Regions from separate parts of the Homo sapiens genome. Here regions 1 and 3 are each linked to region 2. The links are contacts of gene promoters, found by promoter capture Hi-C in human tissues and cell types (Jung and others, 2019). All regions are on one chromosome and are shown on one strand. Each heading gives the region's core, a stretch centred on a gene start or on the middle of the fragment in contact. The rest is flanking DNA. Distances are from core to core; before and after follow the strand shown.

Region 1 (2,779 bases), core at 161-2,660, 670 kb after region 2:
TCAGTTTTGTCACCCACTCTCTATGGGTACACACTTCTGTGCTTTGCTCTATCCCAGCAGTTATTTTGTCCTTGGGTTAACAGTTCCTAAAAAAAATGACATATTCCATGGTAAAATTGAAGTCCATATAAATGGGGTAATATGTGAAATTCTTTTCTCACCGCTATGTTTGTGAGATTTATTCATGTGTTCTATGTAGCTGTTCTTTTTTGAGCATTTTTGTTTATTTTATGAATACACCATATGTGAATTCTCCCCAGTTTGGGGCTATTAGAAATAGTGCTGCCATGATAATTTTTGTGTGATAATTTATATAAAAGTAAAACTGGTATTTTCCTTGTTATTGGTAATAAAATATTCTATTGGCCACAGTAGTTGTCTTTGTGAATATTTAATTGGTTGTAGTTGTGTTTTTTAGAGTTTCATTTCCTTTTTACATACTTGTGGGGCTTTTCACGGTAGGTTAATGTGCATAGTGTGGGGCAAAAGACCCAGCATAGTTGTACTTTGGATTCATTTTTGGTAAATTTAGAGGAGGTTGAGGCTTGATGATTTTTTAAATCATTTTCCAGATTTCCAATGCTATCATTTATACTAAGTTCAGAATTTTAGTTGGAAAATTTCCTTTGGCAGTTACATCTTTTGTTTTGCTTACTGTAGGTCAGATTTAATGTACTACAATATGTTGTCCCAGAAGTGAAAGACCTTTACAATTGGCTTGAAGTAGAATTTAACCCATTAAAACTCTGTGAGCGAGTCACAAAGGTAAGCCTTTGTATTTAAGTTCTGGTTGTTACCACAGAGTTGGCCTTCTTGCAGTTTTGGGTTGTATTCATATTTGTTAAGAGAGAAGTTTTGTCCTATGTGTTGGAATTCAGTGCACATTTCATTGTCTTTTTTCTTTATTTCAAGAGAAAAGATATATCTGATGTGCTCAGCAAACCTTTGGAGGTTAATTAGCAGCATGACTAATTTAGCCATTGCTGCCAGTCACCTTCAAACAAGTATCAGTAGCTTCATGATACATTTTGTATTTCTTTGCATTGGATGATGTTTTTGTATATTAAAAAAAAAAGAGTTTTAGATGTTTTAGTATCTCTTATGTAGAAAGTGTGATTCTCTTTCAATTTAATGGATTTTATAGGTTCTAAATTGGGTTAGGGAACAACCTGAAAAGGAACCGGAATTGCAGCAGTATGTGCCACAACTGCAAAACAACACCATCCTCCGCCTTCTGCAGCAGGTAAAAATAAAAAAATAAAAAAAGTTTTGTGATGTTATGTGCTCATCATGAAACTAAAAACTGGAAAAATCTAGAACTGCCTAGGAAGTGAGAACCTCCCCAAGTTCTGCCCCTGGCAAAAATTAGTCTATTTATTAATTTGAAAATCAGAATTATTATATTTACATATTTTGTAACGGACGCTTTTGTTTTTTGGCTGAACACTGTCTTTGGGCATTTTTCCTTGTTAGTAATGTAGGGCTACCTTATTCCATTTAAGGTACTGTGGTGTATTTATTCAGACTCTCTTGATGAAAACCTGTATTCCTAGATTTTTTTTTTCCCTGTTAGAAATCTTGTAGCATTGAGCATCTTTCATACATGTATCTTTGCATACTTCTATTACTTTCTGTGGCATAAGAAGTGGAATTAGTCATAGGGTTTATGGATTTAAAGCTTTAATAGCTATTCAGAAGCCTGGATTAATAGACCCCCCACCATGAGTGAATGAGACAGCCTTTTCATATATTTTAGTCCAGGGGCTTAAGTCAGTAAGTGCTCCCATTTTGTTTTCCATTTGTTGCATTTGGGAAGGAGGGCGTTTTATTATATTTTCATCTCAGTATTTGTGCACATTTCATTGACCTGCTTTCTTTTATGTGAGTAGTGTTATTTCTTATGTGCTATACAAATAATTGAAGGCTAATTAGCAGTATAACTATAAATAGTAATGCTGCCAGTCTCCTTCAGACAAAAATTCTATAAGAAGTGTTTAAATATATTCGGTAAGTAGCAGGTTTTTAGGCTTTTTTGTTTTACAACAACTAGGATTTGAAAAGATTATAGGTTTGAGGAATAGTATGATAATGGTTCTCAAAGCATGGAGTTTAGAGTCGATGGTCTGGGATTAGCATTCTGGCTTTAACAATGTACTGCTAACATAAATTCTCTGGCATAATTTCTACTTCCCATGACTGTCATGAGATTGCACATAAAAAGTGCTGAATAAACAGTGGCTAGTGTTATTAACCCTTTGTTTTCTATGCAGGTGTCACAGATTTATCAGAGCATTGAGTTTTCTCGTTTGACTTCTTTGGTTCCTTTTGTTGATGCTTTCCAACTGGAACGGGCCATAGTAGATGCAGCCAGGCATTGCGACTTGCAGGTAGGTATGTGCTGTAAGGAGACAGGAGAAGGCCCTTGAGGGCTAGAAAGACACATACCTTCTGTTTCTCAGCTTTTGGTACAGTGATACCATTTTAAAGTTTACTGAGTGAACTTTTCCAGCTTTTGTATATGACATTCTTCTGTTACTTTTTGACTTCATGCTTACTTGTGGATTTAACCATTGATAATTTAATTTTCAAAGGTTCGTATTGATCACACTTCTCGGACCCTGAGTTTTGGATCTGATTTGAATTATGCTACTCGAGAAGATGCTCCGATTGGTCCTCATTTGCAAAGCATGCCTTCAGAGCAGATAAGAAACCAGCTGACAGCCATGTCCTCAGTACTTGCAAAAGCACTTGAAGTCATTAAACCAGCTCATATACTGGT
Region 2 (3,054 bases), core at 230-2,729:
CAACTCTAGGCTGTGACCCCGAACGAGTTACTAATAACCTCTCACTCCTTTCTCCTCACCTGAAAAAGAGGATCCCACACGTGTCCTGTAAGGTTGCTGTGGGGATTGGAAATAATATGTTAAAGGGCCTGTCCTTAAAAACCATCCTATAAGTGATACCACGCTGTGATCTGAAAAGCTCATCTGAACCTTTTATCCTTTTCAATTCATATCATGTAATCCTTCTGTCTAGACTGCACATAAGAATTACAAGTAAGTCTGAAAAGCTCTGGCTCCTTCCTTAAAGAACTCTATCCTCTCGCTTTCCCTAAAGTGGAAGAATCTCTGAGTGATATGAGGAAAGGATTAGCAAGCCAAAAGGGGCAGGTGCCACCCAGCCCCATCTTACAAGAAACTGGACTGTCAGCGCTCTGAGGGCAGGGACTGCTCTGTTTAAACCACGACTGCACACACATTTTCCTAAAGCAAGCTAATTGCAGACTTAAGCCTCTCCGAACAGCTTACATGACACCCAAACATGGACCCACAATACATTTTGTGTCGCACAACATCAAGTCACACAAAAATCTCAAAATTATACATTACAATACAATTTAATTGTGCTGTGGTATTAAAGTCAAAGACAAAGGCTTTAAACCGAGTGCCTATGAGGTAACCACAGTAAAGTCACACCTTTAATAATAAGGGACCAAGAACACACGGGATGGCAACAGGGAGTGAGTGTCCAGCAGAGCCCTAGACGGAACTGGCGCAACCGCTCCAGATCGGAATTCGAACCCAGAACTTCTGGCGAAGGCCATGTAAGAACTACTCCAAGGAGGAAGAGGCCTTTACGGCCAGGTGCACCTTGCTGGAACTTTCTGCCGGAGGGGACCCCCTCCCCTCGGCCTGGGCCCCAAGCCCCAAGGGCGGCCGCGTGACGCGGTGGGAAGGACGAGGGTCGCCAGCCCCTTCTGCTCCGCACTGGGGTAGGGGCTCGGCGCTGTCTCGGAGAAAGGCCAGGCTCCTTCCAGTCAGGGAATAATGACAGCTCGCGCGCTCGCAGCCCGCCCCGCCCCGCCTCACCAGGCCCGCAGGCGGCTCCTCCCGCCCGGCTGAGGGGTCCGGCCGCGCCCCCTCCTCTCCCCGCCCTGGCCCGGGGTGCCCCCCGCCCGCACCGCCAGCCTCACCGGGTCGGAGCTGGAGGCCGCCGTCGCGGCGGCTGCACCACAGCGCGCGCTCGCCCTGCTGCAGGATGTAGTGGTCCTTGGCTTGGAAGAGCTCCATGCTGGCCCCGCGCGCCCAGGGAGGCGGCGGCCCGCGGGCGGCGCACGGGGCGTCCTAGTCGGTCGAGGCCGCCAGAGCCCGCGCCTCGGGGAGCGGCCGGGTAGGAACCGCGCCGAGAAGCAGCGGCAGAGGGAACGCCCCGGGGCACCCGACCGGTAGGAGGAGAACGCGCCCCGGCAGCGGCGGCGGCAGCGGCGGCCGTAGAGGCCTCTCCCCCCCGCTCCTCCCCTTCCCTGGCTCCGCCCCAGGCCCGGCTCCACCCCCTCTGCTGGCTACTCTCCCCGAGCGCCCGGCTCCGCCCCTCAGCCTCCTCCTCCTTTCAGCTCCCTCCCGCTTCCTGCCCTTTCCTCCGCCTTCTCCCGGGTGTCTCCTCCCAGCTCCTCCCCGCGGGTCTTTCCTCCTCCCTCTCGTCCTTCCGCCCGCCCCTCCCGCTCTTGCCCAGGCCCCTCCCCCGGCGCGCCAGCCTTCCTGTCGTGGTCACCGGTGGCAGCTCGGGAGCTCGGCCGAGTCGGTCTGGACTGACCGCCTCCCTCCGCGCGGCCTTGGGGACAGGCGCCCACCGCTGGGGCCTCCCCTCCGTGCAGGGAGGCGCTCACGCTTCGCCAGGCCGAGACCTGAATCCAACCCCACACCCGCTCTCCCGGAGCGGTGCGGGGTACGTTCCCCGCGGGCCTGCGCTGCCTGCCCGTACCGAAACCAGGCGAGACCCCGGGGCCTGGCTACAGGGGTTCATCCCCAGCCAGGCCCACAGCCAAGCGGAGGCGTCTTCTGTTTTCGTATTCCCTATTAGAAGTTTGACAACAGGAGGCATTCAATAAATGCACATCAACGAGGGAAAGCATGTAACAATAGAAAACACACAAGCATTAGCAGCACGCGGCTAAAGAGCGAGGAGGAAGGGAGGAATGTACAGGTGCTGCTGTGTCCCGAATTAAGCAGGGCGGTTTGGAGAAGACTTCACAAATGGAGCCAGTTAATGAAGCAAGCGGAAGGAATATCGTTTGGCGAGGATAAGATGAATGGAGACCCTCTCGGGGAAGGAGGAGTCTCCCCCAAACATCCTTGAGCTCAGTCTGTCTTGAAAAACCAGTTGATATCCTGAACAGAATGGGTCTGGAGAATGAGGCCCCCACTTCCGGGGCCAGTTCGAGGACTATCTAGCTGTGTGATCTTGGGGAAGTCTCTTGGTCTCAGATGGTGGTTGAACTAATGACCTTTTATGACACCCCCAGTTCTATAAATCATTGAGTCTTCCTACTCCTAACTCCTTGCCTTCTCTAATGCCTGAATCGGAAACAAGAGAAAAAGACAAGAAGTAGGAGATGAGAAAAATAAGGCAATACTTTTTTTTTTTTTTTTTTTAGTTTAGGAGCGGAAGTTTATAGGCAAAAGAAAAGGGAGAACAGCTGTCTCTCTTGCGAGAGAGAGGAGTGACCGAATGGGACTTCTCAGAAAGCAATACTTTTAACCTTCTGCTCAAGTAAAAGTGAGAGGGTACAAAAGCAGGAAGGAGTTCCACATGACTAGTTATTCCAGCCCACAGTGTTGAATTTCCATAGCACAGAAAGTCCAATGATAACAAAGCGTCCTGGAATCTTTTCTAAGTACCATGCCTCTGTGCTGTCCAGACACCTCAACATAAAGGTCGAGGGAGGTGGTTACTCTATCAAATCTTTGTGATGTGATTTGGAGAAAGAAGGTAATGAAGCTATAAGAAGCTTCAGTGGAACCATCGGTTTCAGATTGATTGTTTAATTCAGCCATGTGTTGACTTAGCAAAAATGAGAA
Region 3 (2,700 bases), core at 166-2,665, 630 kb before region 2:
CTCTATATAAGAACATAAACCTCGGGCCGGGCGCGGTGGCTCACACCTGTAATCTCAGCACTTTCGGAGACCGAGGCGGGCAGATCACGAGGTCAGGAGCTCGAGACCGTCCTGGCTAACACGGTGAAACCCCATCTCTACTAAAAATACAAAAAATTAGCCAGGTGTGCTGGCGGGCGCCTGTTGTCCCAGCTACTCAGGAGGCTGAGGCAGGAGAATAGCGTGAACCTGGGAGGCGGAGCTTGCAGTGAGCCGAGATCGCGCCACTGCACTCCAGCCTGGGCGACAGAACGAGACCCTGTCTCAAACAAACAAACAAAAAAGAACATAAACCTCAAGGAAAGAAATCCCAGCTTCAGATCTCTGAAGAATAAGTATGGTACGGAATATCATTCCATTATCTCAGCTACTTTCCCTCAGTGAAAACTTTCATCAGAATTCCAACCACGTTTTAATATCTGTGTTTAAATGAATATGAAATAATTTAAATATAAATCAAGTGAGGTCATTGAAAGTTGAGACTCAAATCAGGCAATGTACAGGGAAGGCTGGAACTGTCTAGTATATGAAGGTTATCTGAGACTATCAGTCAAGGCTCTCCAGAGAAATAGAGCCAGTAGGATAGATATAAATAGACATACACATGTATACACATACAAATGCATATAATAATTAAAGAGATTTATTTATTTTAAGGAATTGGCTCATTTGATTGCGGGGCCTCACAAGTCTGAAATTGACGTGGTCAGTAGGATAGAAGCTCAGGCAGGAACTGATGCTGCAGTATTGAGACAGAATTTTCCCTCTGGGAAATCTCAGTTTTTGCTCTTAAGGAAATCCCCTTATTTGAAGCCAATTGCTTATAGATGCTAACTACATCTACAAAATACCTTCATGACAACACCTAAACTACTGTTTTGGTTAAATAATTGGGTACTATGTCCTAGGCAAGTTGACACATAAACTGACCCTCACAGAGACGTAGCAGGTCCCTGGGATTCTTTTTAAGGATTTCCTCCATGCCATAATCCAGCCAAGTGAATTATTTTTCAAACTACAGGGATTATAAAAAATAATTTGATTAATCACATTCCTCCACTGCATTCATTTTGTCAAATATACTTGTAACTTTACATATGTAGATATACATATATACATCTATGCATATATATACACATATATATATGACTCAGGCATCCATTCGTGCACACACATATACAAACACACATATATATCTAGTATGATACAACATCACTTTCAAATGCACTCCACATGCATCCAAATGGATTCCAAAAACCCTTTTCCTGCTCATTTGCACTCCAAACTAGCTGTACTTTATGTGAACATTTTAAATTACTTTTCCTATAGATGATGCTGTTGGGTTCATTACATCTCCCTTTTCTTGTCACAATGGTGATATTCAACTTGGATTTTCATTACAAGCCATTTTCTGGTTATTGTTTAGAGCCTGGAAACTAATCTGCTCTCTGCCTGTCCCTCAGACATCAATGGTTTTGCCATATTGAAATGCAAAAAGAGAAACAAAATATGCTATTTCATATGTAAGTTGTGACTATAGGGCAATAGGAAGTTTGTTGTCAATTAGCCTTTCATTTAATTACTTTGGCAAATGTGATTTTTTAAAAAACTAGACAAGAAAATCAGTTCCTGCTTCTCAACAATGAACATGGGTCGGACCACTATTACACAACACTTCTAAGAGATGAAGCACAGTGGGTCTTAATTTCTAGTATTTCCAGAGAGCTTATTTTTGAATGAAAAATAACAAAAAACCCCATCAGTGGAATTCCTTACTCAACCAATCCCCTTTTATTTATTTCTTCCAGACAGTATGATGACCATTCTGTTAGCTAATACCCTGGATGAGCTGTAATTCAGAGCGATTTAATTAGCTTTAATAATAGCATCCATGCTTAGTCCTTCTGAAGATTCATTGCAACATGAGGGCATAAATTGGCAAATGTCTACAGTAGGGAATGCCTGGTTATAACTCTCACCTCTGGACTCTCATAAATTCAAAACAGCAGTATCAGTCTCTTCCATCTTCAGTTTTCAATGGATTTTTCTCTCTCAACTTTCCAGGTGACGAATGACACCTTCTTTGGTCTATCTAATACTCAACCTACTGATATTGTTGCAGAAACAAACTTCCCTGGTTTATCCAAAGCATATTTCTCTGCTTTGAACTGATATTTATGTAGGCCCTTTTCATGTGAATAAAAAGTTTGCTAGAACAGACATAATCTAAATCCATGTTTACCTGTGATTTGCCTTGAAGAAAGCCAAATGGTTTGTCTGCCTCAGCTCAAGAATGAACTTTCCCTTTCGGCCGGAACCGCCATCTTCCAGTAATTCGCCAAAATGACGAACACAAAGGGAAAGAGGAGAGGCACCCGATATATGTTCTCTAGGCCTTTTAGAAAACATGGAGTTGTTCCTTTGGCCACATATATGCGAATCTATAAGAAAGGTGATATTGTAGACATCAAGGGAATGGGTACTGTTCAAAAAGGAATGCCCCACAAGTGTTACCATGGCAAAACTGGAAGAGTCTACAATGTTACCCAGCATGCTGTTGGCATTGTTGTAAACAAACAAGTTAAGGGCAAGATTCTTGCCAAGAGAATTAATGTGCGTATTGAGCACATTAAGCACTCTAAGAGCCGAGATAGCTTCCTG

Evidence for each region. The method cuts DNA at HindIII sites, captures the fragments that hold promoters and counts their contacts. A contact is called where the count stands out against the background at its distance.
Region 1: a fragment that was not itself captured here is called in contact with the fragment with the promoter of INPP5F in region 2 in 1 of the 25 tissues and cell types used here (IMR-90 fibroblasts).
Region 3: a fragment that was not itself captured here is called in contact with the fragment with the promoter of INPP5F in region 2 in 1 of the 25 tissues and cell types used here (stomach).

The regions. Positions count from the first base shown.
Region 1 is chr10:119,059,210-119,061,988 of GRCh38, reverse strand. It overlaps EIF3A (eukaryotic translation initiation factor 3 subunit A), which reads left to right. Exons shown (of 22, transcript NM_003750.4): 8 at 661-765; 9 at 1,145-1,243; 10 at 2,271-2,387; 11 at 2,592-2,777. It overlaps SNORA19 (small nucleolar RNA, H/ACA box 19), which reads left to right and starts at 1,851; the gene lies at 1,851-1,978. LOC124900296 (small nucleolar RNA SNORA19) reads left to right here and starts at 878; the gene lies at 878-1,006. The HindIII fragment of the contact is 6,036 bases long and covers 1-2,779 here.
Region 2 is chr10:119,724,475-119,727,528 of GRCh38, reverse strand. It overlaps INPP5F (inositol polyphosphate-5-phosphatase F), which reads right to left and starts at 1,479. Exons shown (of 20, transcript NM_014937.4): 1 at 1,170-1,479. The coding sequence starts at 1,266. RefSeq lists a silencer at 1,051-1,820 and an enhancer at 2,431-2,480. The HindIII fragment of the contact is 7,792 bases long and covers 1-3,054 here.
Region 3 is chr10:120,354,866-120,357,565 of GRCh38, reverse strand. It overlaps the pseudogene RPL21P16. Among named protein-coding and RNA genes, the nearest start is that of PLPP4, 100 kb to the left of the region's middle. The HindIII fragment of the contact is 3,748 bases long and covers 1-2,700 here.